3 separate regions of the Homo sapiens genome follow, and regions 2 and 3 are each linked to region 1. Evidence: promoter capture Hi-C in human tissues and cell types (Jung and others, 2019). All regions are on one chromosome and are shown on one strand. The core of a region is centred on a gene start or on the middle of the fragment in contact, and the rest is flanking DNA. Distances in the headings are between cores, read along the strand shown. Region 1 has its middle 12 kb from the start of GSTP1. Region 2 holds the start of AIP (AHR interacting HSP90 co-chaperone). Region 3 holds the start of ACY3 (aminoacylase 3).

What was found. Contacts are between HindIII fragments. The study calls those that stand out against the background at their distance.
Region 2: the fragment with the promoter of AIP here is called in contact with a fragment that was not itself captured in region 1 in 4 of the 25 tissues and cell types used here (lymphoblastoid cells, mesendoderm cells, ovary and 1 more).
Region 3: a contact is called between the fragment with the promoter of ACY3 here and a fragment that was not itself captured in region 1, in 2 of the 25 tissues and cell types used here (aorta and lymphoblastoid cells).

The regions. Positions count from the first base shown.
Region 1 is chr11:67,570,031-67,574,201 of GRCh38, forward strand. No RefSeq gene overlaps it. Among named protein-coding and RNA genes, the nearest start is that of GSTP1, 12 kb to the right of the region's middle. The HindIII fragment of the contact is 7,251 bases long and covers 1-4,171 here.
Region 2 is chr11:67,481,041-67,485,211 of GRCh38, forward strand. It overlaps AIP (AHR interacting HSP90 co-chaperone), which reads left to right and starts at 1,986. Exons shown (of 6, transcript NM_003977.4): 1 at 1,986-2,217. The coding sequence starts at 2,119. RefSeq lists enhancers at 1,828-1,887, 4,035-4,084. The HindIII fragment of the contact is 17,225 bases long and covers 1,488-4,171 here.
Region 3 is chr11:67,649,480-67,653,650 of GRCh38, forward strand. ACY3 (aminoacylase 3) reads right to left here and starts at 1,251. Exons shown (of 8, transcript NM_080658.2): 1 at 1,104-1,251. RefSeq lists enhancers at 1,323-1,402, 1,473-1,532. The HindIII fragment of the contact is 14,698 bases long and covers 1-4,171 here.

The DNA of each region.
Region 1 (4,171 bases), core at 911-3,410:
ACATACTTCCAAAAATTAAATTTCAAAATTTTTGTTTTTTTTGAGACAGTTGTTTCACTCTGTTGCCCAGGCTGGAGTGCAGTGGCGTGATCTCAGCTCACTGCTACTTCTGCCTCCTGGGTTCAAATGATTCTCCTGTTTCAGCCTCTTGGTAGCTGGGACTACAGGTGCACACCAACATGGCTGGCTAATTTTTGTATTTTTGGTAGAGGCGGGGTTTCACCATGTTGGCCAGGCTGGTTTTGAACTCCTGACCTCAAGTGATCCACCCGCCTCAGCCTCCCAAGGTGCAGGGATTACAGGGGTGAGCCACCACACCTGGGCACCTAATTTAAATTTCAAATTTAGAAAAATTTTTGACATATTTCCCAAAGTTAATTAAGTCTTTTTTTATCTGAACTATCTTGGACACAAGAAATAGGAGCCCTTGGAAGTCCAAGAGAGAAATACTGGGCTTATTTGGTATGTTAAAATCATATACGGAGCATTGTCAAATAAGAAATGGTGTTTAACTTTCTTTTTTTTGAGATGGAGTCTCGTTCTGTCGCCCAGACTGGAGTGCAGTGGCACAATCTCGGCTCACTGCAACCTCCACCTCCCAGGTTCAAGCAATTCTCCTGCCTCAGCCTTCTGAGTAGCTGGATTACAGGCGCACCCCATCACACCCAGCTAATTTTTGTATTTTTAGTAGAGATGGGGTTTTGCCATGTTAATCAGGCTGGTCTCGAACACCAGACCTCGTGATCCACTCGCCTTGGCCTCCCAAAGTGCTGGGATTACAGGCATAAGCCACCACGCCCAGCTGGTGTTTAACTTTCTTTGAGTTATATTTCTATAAATGTGTTATTAATATGTGTTCCAAAATTGTATGAGATTCTTAAAATGACATGTCTCGGTATATGTTTTCAGTGATAATGTTGTTAAATTTTTGTATGTCACAGAAATAACCAAGTTTCCTTGTCAGTTGCATCTTTAACCATGGCTAGTCTAAGTTTTTTGTCATCCACAGACAATTATTGTTTTACTTTGATTCTCAAAAATTAGTTTATAATCAGCTACAGTCCAAAATTTGCTTCTTAAGGAAATTCACAGAAAACGATGCTGAAAAGTACTCTTGAGTATAGGTTTCCAGTAAATTTATTTATTAATTAAATATTTGTTTGCTTGTGTATGTTTTTTGAGACAGGGTCTCACTCTGTCACCCAGGCTGGACTGCAGTGGTGTGAACATGTCTCACTGCAGCCTCAACCTCCTGGGCTCCAGCAATCCTCCTACCCTAGCCTCCCGAGTAGCTGGGACTACAGGCATGCACCATCACGCTTGGCTAATTTTTAAATTTTTTGTACAGTCTTTCTGTGTCACTCAGGCTGGTCTCAAACTCCTGACCTCAGGTGATCCTTTTGCCTTGTCCTTCCAAAGTGCTGGTAAGATAGGAGAACAGGGAATTAGGGTAACAAAGGGTTAAGGCATAAGCAAAAAACAGCAGGGGCAGCCAGTTCTAGGCAAGATTAGGCAGCACGCAGGCCACGTCCTCACTCCTGTGATAACAAGACAGGAGTCTCCACTTCTGCCTCCGATTGACCACAGGCAGGGTCTGCACTTCAGCCTCTGATTGGTCACGGGCCAATCGCTTACAGGGTGTAACCAATTGGAAGCCTCTGCAGGGCACCTATGGTGTTACCAAATTCTTTTGGCTTAATAAAAACCCTGAAGCATATTGTAATTGGGGCTGCTTGAGCCTGCTCCCACTCTGTGGAGCGTACTTTTGCTTTAATACATCTATGCTTTCATCTTCTGTTGCTTTGTGCATTTTGTTCAGTTCTTTGTTCAACACGCCAAGAACCTGGACAACTCACAGTCAAGACTTTCCATCTGGTAACACTGGGACCACAGTCACGAGCTACCGCACCCTGCTCTGGTAACTTTAGAGATCATACCACTGAACTAAGTAAAAACTTCCAGAACCCTAATAAAGAACTGATGCATTCATGAAGATTGTGAACACAACATCAAGCAGAACGAGAATTAATTACGTAGGACAGAACCGATAGGGGACTAAAATGATTTTTATGACTTTTGTTTGTTTGAAACGTTGCTGATTCTTTTTATATTTTGTTTTCTAGAAACAAGAAAACTTTTTCTTTTGAGCTATTTATAACTCACAGCCATTGGGCAAAGTATACTTTTGTGAGCAAAATTGAAATATTTACCTTTCTCTCTACCTGATTTCTCCAAAATTTGGACACTATTTGTGACGATTCTTATTTTATTGCAATACAGTTATTTGCATAAGTTCAGTAAGACTATGTTTTCTTTTGTAACTGGGCACACTGAAGACACTCGTAATTTTACCAAGGCTTTGACTGTACTGGCATATTTTCAGATACAGCCAGACTGTTTTGAGGAGTTGAGGCTGATTTTATAGAGCCAGTAAAAAGTCCCTTGGAGAGATTGGTCTGGTACCTGGTTTTTATGGTTCCCTTACAAGCTTCCTGACCTTGTGGTGTGGGCGGCAAGCCACCCACGTGCCGAGGCAAGAGACGGAAGGCATGAGCTCTTCCAGCATAATAAAGAAAATAATTAGAATAAGAATAGTTATACTAGAAATAGAATATAGACATGATTATATATGAATATTATCAATCATTAGTTTGTAGCATTACTCTTTATTATATTAATCTCTGTTCTATAATTATTACCTGTTCTATACTTATTACCTAAGGAAAACCAGGCCATACAGAATTAGGAGCTGAAGGGACACGGTGAGAAGTGACCAGAAGGCAAGAATGTGAGCCCTCTGTCAAGCCCGCACAAGGGCCACTAGAGGGCTCCTTGGTCTAGCAGTAACGCCAGTGCCTGGGAAGGCACCTGTTACTTAGCAGACTGGGAAAGGGAGTCTCCCTTTCCCCCAGGGAGTTAGAGAACACTCTGCTTCACCACCTCCTGTGGAAGGCCTGCCATCAGCCAGGCCTGCCCGCAGCCATCCGGAGGCCTAAATGTCTCCCTGTGATGCTGTGCTTCAGTGGTCACGATCCTGGTCCACTTTCATGTTCCGCTCTGTGCACCTGGCCCCGCCTTCTAGATAGCAGTAGCAGAATTAGTGAAAGTATTAAAGTCTTTGATCTTTCCGAGAAATGCATAGAAGAAATAATGACGTAAGCTGTCCCCTCTCTCTCTCCGCCTCGGCTACCAAACAGGGAATGGCCCCGTTCGGTGGACACATGACTCGCGTGACCTTACCCTTACATTGGACTTTACATTGGAGATGACTCACGCTCCTTACCCTGCCCTCTTGCCTTGTATACAATAATTATCAGCGCGGCCAGGCATTTGGGCCTTCGCGTCTTGGTGGTAGTGGTCCCCCAGGCCCAGCTGTCTTTTCTTCTATCTCCTTGTCTTGTGTCTTTATTTCTACAATCTCTCGTCTCCGCACACGAAGAGAAAAACCCATAGGCCCTGTAGGGCTGGACCCTACATTGTGGTAAGGAAAGAATGTCACTTTCTGACAAGCCCAGGAACCTCAAGATATTTGGGACCTTGAGAAGAGAGGAATTCACCCAATTCATACAGGTACTACAGGCACAGGCTGATCATGAATCCATGGGTTGGCTTCAAAGCCTGGGGAGGCTTTCAAAAGTCCAACCTGAGATTCTTCATGAAAAAGCTCCAGCAAAGCCAATTTAAAAGAGCCTGTATGGCCATTCACTATTCTCATTGCACTTTTTACAAATAATCAGGCCAAGTATAATACTAAAACTTATTTGGCAACAAAATCAGCCCTACTAAGATTTCTTTTGATAGAAATGCAGAACTGGAGAGTGAGAGAGAATCAATCTTTAAAAAGCAAACTGTGGCACATCTGTTATTAGATTCCAGCCCTGACCATTGTTTTTGAGATTTTATTGTTTTCCTACAATTTTGACTAAATCTTGAATTATTTCCTGGCCACAAGTCTCTAAAGAAGGACTGGGTTTTAATTTTCTTCCTGATGTTTTTAGTTGATTCCCTGATAGAATAGGTTTTTGTTGTCATTCTGACATACAAATTCTTTGGTTGTGATTCTTTTTTTGTTTTTGAGGTAGAGTTTTGCTCTGTCGCCCAGGCTGGAGTGCAGTGCAGTGGTACGATCTCAGCTCACTGCCACCTCTGCTTCCCTGGTTCAAGCGATTCT
Region 2 (4,171 bases), core at 736-3,235, 89 kb before region 1:
GTTTTGAAGTGTATACTCAGTGGCGTTAAGTATATGCACACTGTTATGCAACCAATTTCCAGAACAGTTTCGTCTTTCAAAACAGAAATTCTACACTCATCAAAGAACAAGTCTCCATTTCCCACCCCCCTGCCCCCAGCCCTTGGCAATCACCATTCTGCTGTCATTTTTTTTTTTTTTTGAGATGGAGTCTTGCTCTGTCGCCCAGGCTGGAGTGCAGTGGCGCGATCTTGGTTCAATGCAACTTCTGCCTCCTGGGTTCAAGCGATTCTCCTGCCTTAGCCTCCCGAGTAGCTGGGATTACAGGCACGTGCCACCATACCCAGCTAATTTTTGTATTTTTCGTAGAGATGGGGTTTCTCCATGTTGGCCAGGCTGGTCTCAAACTCCTGACCTCAGGTGATCTGCCTGCCTTGGCCTCCAAAAGTGCTGGGATTACAGGTGTGAGCCACCGCGCCCGGCCCTGCTTTCTGTCTTTGTGAATCTGACTACTCTAGGTACCTTACATAAGTAGAATAATACAGTATTTTCCTGTATGTGACTGGTACTGTTATTTCACTTAGCATATTGATGCTTTTTTTTTTTTTTTGAGATGGGGTCTCACTCTATCACCCAGGCTGGAGTGCAGTGGTGCGATCTTGGCTCACTACAACCTCCATCTCCTGGGCTCAAGCAATCCTCCAGCCTCAGCCTGCTGAGTAGCTGGGACCACAGGCGTGCACCACCACACCACCTAATTTTTTGTATTTTTGGTGAAGATGGTATTTTGCCATGTTGTCCAGGCTGGTCTTGAACTTGTGAGCTCAAGGAGATCCAGGAGATCCACTTGCCTTGGCCTCCCAAAGTGCTGGTATTAGAGGCATAAGCCACCACACCTGCCCCATACTGATGCATTTTTACATGACATTAGTGAATTCAATTAGCCTAGTATTTTATTTAGAATGTTTCATATCAGCTGGGCGCTGTGGCTCACGCCTGTAATCCCAGCACTTTGGGAGGCCGAGGTGGGCGGATCACGAGGTCCGGAGATTGAGACCATCCTGGCTAACACGGTGAAACCCTGTCTCTACTAAAAATACAAAAAATTAGCCGGGCATGGTGGCGGGCGCCTGTAGTCCCAGCTGCTCGGGAGGCTGAGGCAGGAGAATGGCGTGAACCCGGGAGGCAGAGCTTGCAGTGAGCTGAAATTGTGCCACTGCACTCCAGCGTGGGTGACAGAGCGAGACTCCGTCTCAAAAAAAGAAAAACAAAAGTTGTTTTAGCCCCAAAGTACCTCATTTCTCTTTTCTTTTAATTTAATTTTTTTTTTTTGTTTTGTTTTGAGACAGCATCTCGCTCTGTCGGCTAGCCTGGAGTGCAGTGGCACGAACACGGCCCACTGCAGCCTCGAACTCCTGGGCTCAAGCGATCCTCTCGCCTCGGCCTCCCAAAGTGGTGGGGTTACAGGGCCACCGCGCCCGGCGCTAAAGTACCTCATTTCTATCATTCATCGATTATTCCCTAATATTAATTGGGCACAACTATGACTCATTTCCGACCCCGCAATGGGCTCTCTTGGTCTCCTTCTCCACCTTTCTTTCCCTCTTCCTCTTTTTATTTTTTGAAAGAGGAAGATCCAGGATGCAAGAGTCCCGACAATCATACTAGATATGCGAAAGAGAAAAAGCCGGAAGAAAATACACAAAAATCATAACACTTTGAGGGTGTGGCTTACGGGTGTTTTTTTTTTTTTTCATTTTCCTAACTCTGCAGTGCTGTTATATTCCATCCACAACTTCAAACAAAGTGCCACACGGCCGCAGTCCCAATCAATTCAATGACAATTGTTAGGGACGTCCTCGTCCCGCCCGGCCCGCGGACCCCGGCCCTTCCTCCTTGACAGGCTGGGGTCCAGCCCCGAGACATTCCTAGGCTCCGCCCCCGAGCAGACGCGCGCGCTCAGCCCCAGCGCAGAGAACCAATCACCATCCGTTTCCACGCTCAGTCCCTTTTGGCTTCTGCCCTCAACCAAAATGGCGCTAGCTCGGAAGCTGCCGAGGTGCTAGGAGTTGCCGAAGCAAGTCCGGAAGCTACCGAGCGAGTCCGGAAGTTGCCGAAAGGGAGCAGCGGGGAAGGAGGATGGCGGATATCATCGCAAGACTCCGGGAGGACGGGATCCAAAAACGTGTGATACAGGAAGGCCGAGGAGAGCTCCCGGACTTTCAAGATGGGACCAAGGTTCGTGTCTACCCTACCCTTCTCCCCCTCTGCGGCGTGGTGCGCATGCGAGGCGGGAGGAGGCCTTAGGCGAGAGGTTGCGCATGCCCAGAGGGCAGCGTCCACTGCCCCTACCGCTCACATGCAGAACTCGACGCTGATTGGGCTGAATTTAAGTAGGGGGTGAATTCGGGCCTGTCTGCCCCGCCCCCTGGCTCGGCCTTGTAGCAGCATTGGTGGGGGAGGCCGTCAGTCATCACAAGCGGGTTGGGGTTGGGGGTTGATCTCAGTGCTTGGGCAGACCCCACGCTGGAGGAAACCCAGGGCCGGGAGTGGTCCTCGGGTATCTGGGTTTCAAGGCTCATGATCCTTTGTAGATGGAAGGGCCTTCTGAAAACACTTAGACCAACTGCCGCTGTTTAGAGTGGAAAACCAAGACCCTGGGACGTGCAAAGCCGGAGAACGGGCCCAGAGGTCAGGTCTCCCAGACAGGGACTCTTTAGCAGCCTTCCTGCTGCACTAGGGGCTTGTTGGGACAGATGAGGGTTGGGAAGTAAAGAACCTCCCACTTTTCTCCTTTTTGCCAGGCCCCCAGATCCAGCCCCTCTGCCCGCTTCTCCCCCAACCTACAACTCCAGGCTTCCCTGCTTCTCCTGTAGTTGCCTCCTCCCGGAGTGCTTTTCCCAGCTGCCACTTGTTTGCAGAGTAGGGAACCTCCCAGGGGCAGCCCCTGTGCCCAGCAGAGCAGTCAGGCAGGACATGCACATTGAGCAAATGAGCACATGCCCCCTGGCCAGCACCGTGCCGAATCGGGCAGCTAAGCATCCTAGCCCAGTGCAGTATAAGTGCCCTGAGAGCAGAGGGGAGCTGCATGGCTGGAGTGATCCGCTGTATGAAAAGATATCTTCTCTAAGAAGAGACAGGATGTGTGGTGTGGGTTCATGCCCCCATGTGCTGGGGGGTTGGTGGCGTTGGAAGAAGGGGCTGGCAAGGGGGATCCTGGATGGAACAGACATCAGAAGGAGAGATGTGAACAATGGCACCCCAAGATCAGAAACAGGTGGTGTTAAATAACCAATCGCCAGCACTGATTGAGTGCTCACTATTCGAACATTGTGCTACATGCTTCACACGTTTATTTCCTACAATGTGAGATAGGTACTGTTGTTGATTCCGTTTTACCGATGTGGAAACTGACTTCAGAGATGCAGCATGGTGCGGCAGTTAAGAGCGTGGGCTCCTCTAACCATATCCTGTCGAGAGTTCAATCTCCAAACCTCTTTTCTCTGCACCCACCCCCAGTGTTATCTCTAAAAACTCTCCCTGCCCGGATTACTCCCAGATGCAGCTCTCCAGTCATTAACTGTCTCTTAAACCTGATATATAGCTCCCTACTCACCATATCCACCTGGAAGCCTGGTTGGCAACTCACACTTAACCTGCTCCACCTGAGGCTTCTCCGTGTCAGGGGAACCAACAACCTTCCCGTTGTTCAGGGCAAAAACCTTAGCATCTCTGTGGTCCTCCCAGTCTCACATCCAACATCACATCCTCAATATCCAGCCAGGATCTGAGTTCTCACCACTTCTGCCATCACTGCTTGGGTCCAGGCCATCCTCATCTCCAGCCTGGGTTACTGCAGCGACCTCTAACTCTCCTGCCTCTTTTGTCCCTCTGTGGTCTGTTCTCGTCCCAGCAGCCGAGCCCATGCCAGATTCAATTCCTTTTTTGCTCGGAGCCACTCAGTGGCTTCCATCACAGAGTGAAAAACAGAGGCCTCACCATAGCCTACAGGCCCTGTGAGGTCCACCCCTACTGACCTGGGTGAGCTCCCCTGCTGACCCTGTGGTGTACCCCACCCCCTCCTTCACTCTGCTCTGCCACACTGGCATTGCTGCTCTTGAACACATCATGCATTTGAAACGGGAAGTTCCCTTGTCTCCCTCGCAGGGCGTGCGATGGGGGAGTGGCTCGC
Region 3 (4,171 bases), core at 1-2,500, 79 kb after region 1:
CGGGGTCCAGGAACCCTCAGAAACAGCAGCCCCCAGTCCTGGCAGTGTGTGCGCGTGTGTGCATGTGTGTGCATGCATGTGTGCATCTGTACATGTGTGCGTGTGCATGAGAGCATGTGTGTGCGTGTGTGCACTCACATGTGTACGTGACAGCATGCGTGTGTGCGTGCGTGTGTACATGTGTGTGCATGTGCATGAGTATTGTGTGCATGTGTGCATGTATGTGTACATGTGTGCGTGTGTGCATGAGAGCATGTGTGCGTGTGTGCGCATGTGTGACAGCATGCATGTGTGCGTGTGTACGTGTGTGCATGTGCATGAGAGTATTGTGTGCATGTGTGCATGCATGTGTGTGTACATGTGTGCGTGTGTGCATGAGAGTGTGTGTGCATGTGTGTGCATGTGTGCATGTGCTTGAGAGCGTGTGTGCGTGCATGTGCGTGAGCATGTGTGCGTGTGTGTGTGTTGTGTGCACACGTGTGACCTGGCTCTGGCCCCACCTCCCTGACAGGCTGTGTGACCTGGAGAGATTCAGTGCCCTCTCTGGGCCTTGGCTCCACCCTGTGAAAGTCCTGGCCAAGGGCAGCTGTGGGGAGTGAGGAACAAAGGGCGGGCACAAGCTTGAAAATGGGCACATGGAGACCCCAGCATGAGTGAGGGCAGAGGATGGTGATGTCATGGGCATCATCACGGGGGCCAATTTCCTCACTGCAGTTGGGGAAACTGAGACCCAGAGAGGGGTCAGAGCTGTGGTTCCCCCCTGTGTCAGCATCCAATTAGATCATGCCTCCCAGCATCACCTCATTGCAAGATGCAATCAGATCACGCCTCATTACCCTATGCTTATAAAACCTGCCCCAGCCCTCAGCTCGGGGAGACACTGCTTTGGGAGCTGTCTAGGTGTTCTCCTTACTTGTTGCAAGAAATAAAATCCCCTATTAAATCCTCTTTAGTTAACACCCGCCAAGCAACTGAGCCCACCCGTTGTGTGGGTAACAAAACTCTGGCGACCCAGATGGGGCCGACTGGGATTCTGATCCTAACTTCTTGAGGCTCACTAAGGTAAAGCAGTGGGCCGCGGCACCTTCCCCGGGCGAACTCACCCACGTGGCCCCAGAGGGTTGAGGGTGACTCCCGGGGATCTTCTGCTTGCTGCGTGGCCCGTGGGGCTGTCACTCCGCCCTACCCCCGAAACAGCGGAAGCAGCTGCCTGGAGCTTTTGTTCTGTGCTGCTCCTTCAGGGAAGAAAGTGGACTTTGCCCCGTGGGTTGACTGAAAGGGTAAATTCTTTGGACCTAGCAGTGGGATCTCTAGACTTCAGCGCAGGGCACCTCTGCTTTCGGTTTCTGTCTGGCTCTACGTGCCGTGGGGGATTGAGAGGCATCTCTGGCCAGGCCAAGGGCAACCCGGATCCCGGATCTGGGTAGACAACAGTGGGACTAGTTTTGGGAATTCGTTTTTTTTTTTTTGAGACAGAGTCTGGCTCTGTCACCCAAGCTGGGGTGCAGTGGCGCGATCTCGGCTCACTGCAAGCTCCACCTCCCGGGTTCACGCCATTCTCCTGCCTCAGCTTCCTGAGTAGCTGGGACCACAGGCGCCCGCCACCACGCCCGGCTAATTTTTTGCATTTTTAGTAGAGACGGGGTTTCACCGTGTTAGCCAGGATGGTCTCGATCTCTTGACCTCGTGATCCGCCCGCCTCGGCCTCCCAAAGTGCTGAGATTACAGGCGTGAGCCACCGCGCCCAGCATGAGAATTTGTTCTTTTTTAGAGAAACAGAATTTTTCACAGGAGGCTGAGCTGCTCCATCTCCCAGAGCCCCTACTTGCCATACCCCGGGTTACCAGAAACAGGAGCTCTGCCATTTGATGAAAAAAATACTTTTTTCAGATAAATGTTTTTGTCATATCATCACACAAAGCGGGTAAAGTTGTATATATATACATACAACTTTTTACAAATATGTGATCATATGTACAAAGGCTAGAAGGAAATATACAGAAAAATATGTATTAAAATACTGGTTTTTTTTCATTGTTTTATAAGATACTCTACAAAACATTACAATGAGGTAGGACTATTTTAGTGCTAGAGAATCTCATTAAATGAATTTGTTCAAGAGCTTCTTTGTCAGCTGGGTGCAGTGGCTCACACCTGTAACCCCAACACTTTGGGAGGCCAAGGGGGGCAGATTGCTTGAGCCTAGGTGTTCAAGACCAGCCTGGGCAACATAGGGAGACCCTGTCTCTACCAAAAAAAAAAAAAAAATTAGGGTGGGCGCGGTGGCTCACACCTATAATCCCAGCACTTTGGGAGGCTGAGGCGAGTGGATCACCTGATGTCAGGAGTGTAAGACCAGCCTGGGCAACATGGCAAAACCCCGTCTGTACTAAAAATACAAAATTTATCCAGGCATGGTGGTGGGTGCCTGTAATCCCAGCTACTTGGGAGGCTGAGGCATGAGGCAGAGGTTGCAGTGAGCCGAGATCATGCCATTGCACTACAGCCTGGGCGACAAGAGCGAAACTCTGTCTCAAAAAAAAAAAAAAAAAAAAATTAGCCAGGTGGTGGCACACACAGCTGTGGCCCCAGCTACTCAGGAGGCTGAGGCGGGAGAATCACTTGAGCACGGGGAGTTGGAGGTAATCGTACCGTGAGTACAGTGAGCCGTTATCGTATGGCTGCATTCCAGGCTAGACAACACAGTGAGACCTTGTCTCAAAAGAAAATAAATAAATAAATAAATAAATAAATAAATAAATAAATAAATAAAGAGCTTCTTTGTCAATATCCTTTTGTGGGTATACATCATAGTCCCACAGTACTTCTTCAACCCAGGGAGATAAATGTGTATTAGTCTGAAGACCCAGGAGAGAATCTTCAAGACTTGGCACTGTCACTGATGATGATCTGCTTCCTTACATTATGACAAATGTATTCCCAGCTCCGGCTTGTTCTGCCTCATTAAGAGAATATTTGAAGACATTATTCATGATAGCAGCATCAGCATTTTGCAGAAGAAACCCTGGGGACAGATGTCTGCATGAAGCACCTTTATTCTGTGAATAAACTGGTATTTTTTAATGACCATTTCCTGCAACTGGCAAAAGTCTCCGTTCAGTTCTACTCCACAGGGTTGCACTGCTAAGCTATAAGATCACCCCATAAAGACTGTGCTGAGCCTGGAGCTGACGTCAGCCACAGCCTTTCCTGATTGATCAGGGAGTGCATGAAGATAAATGAACTTCAATTCCATGAGGGAGAAGGAACGAGCAATCGGTCTAAAGGTTCTGTTTGGTGTGAACCACCCAGTAGTTTCTGCTCATTTTCCCTTTGTCACATAATGAATCAATGAAGTCTTTATCACAAAGGAATGCGTCAGCGTGAATGGTGGGTTCTGGCTGCTGCTGTAGTTTTTGAAGGGTTAGATGTTCTGAGGAAAGCATGGTTTCTAGAGGCAAGCAATTCTGAAGGTCTTCTGCAGTGGGTTTTTTTTTTTTTTAATTTTGAGACAAGGTCCGGCTCTGTCACCCAGGCTGGAGTGCAGTGGCTCGACTGTGGCTCACTGCAACCTCCAACTTCCAGGTTCAAGCAGTCCTCCCATCTCAGCCTCCCAAGTAGCTGAAACTACAGGCACGCACCCAGCTAATTTTTTTTTTGAGATGGGGTCTTGCTATGTTGTCCAGTCTGGTCTCAAACTCCTGAGCTCAAGTGATCCACCCCCTTCAGCCTCCTAAAGTGCTGAGATTACAGGCATAAGCCACCACACCCAACCTTTCTGCTGTGTTTTTAAACACAATGTCTTTATTTCCTTCAGTGAATTCATCAAAATCTCGGGCAGTTTGCATCTGCTGGAGCAGTGCCGGGCGGTCGGCAGAGCCACAGTATAGAGCAGTTACAAGATTTCCTGCCTTGCCGAGTGAAATCTATGCCTTCCAATTTTTTTTAATTAATTAATTTTTAAAAAATTAGATTGGTACAAAAGTAATTGCAGTTTTTGCCATTACTTTCAATGGCAAAAACAGCGGTTACTTTTGAACCAACCTAATATTATAGAGACAGGGTTTCACCATCTTACCTAGGTTGGTCTCGAACTCCTAAGCTCAAGTGATCCACCCACCTCGGCCTCCCAAAGCGTGGTGATTATAGGCATGAGCCACCATGCCCGCCC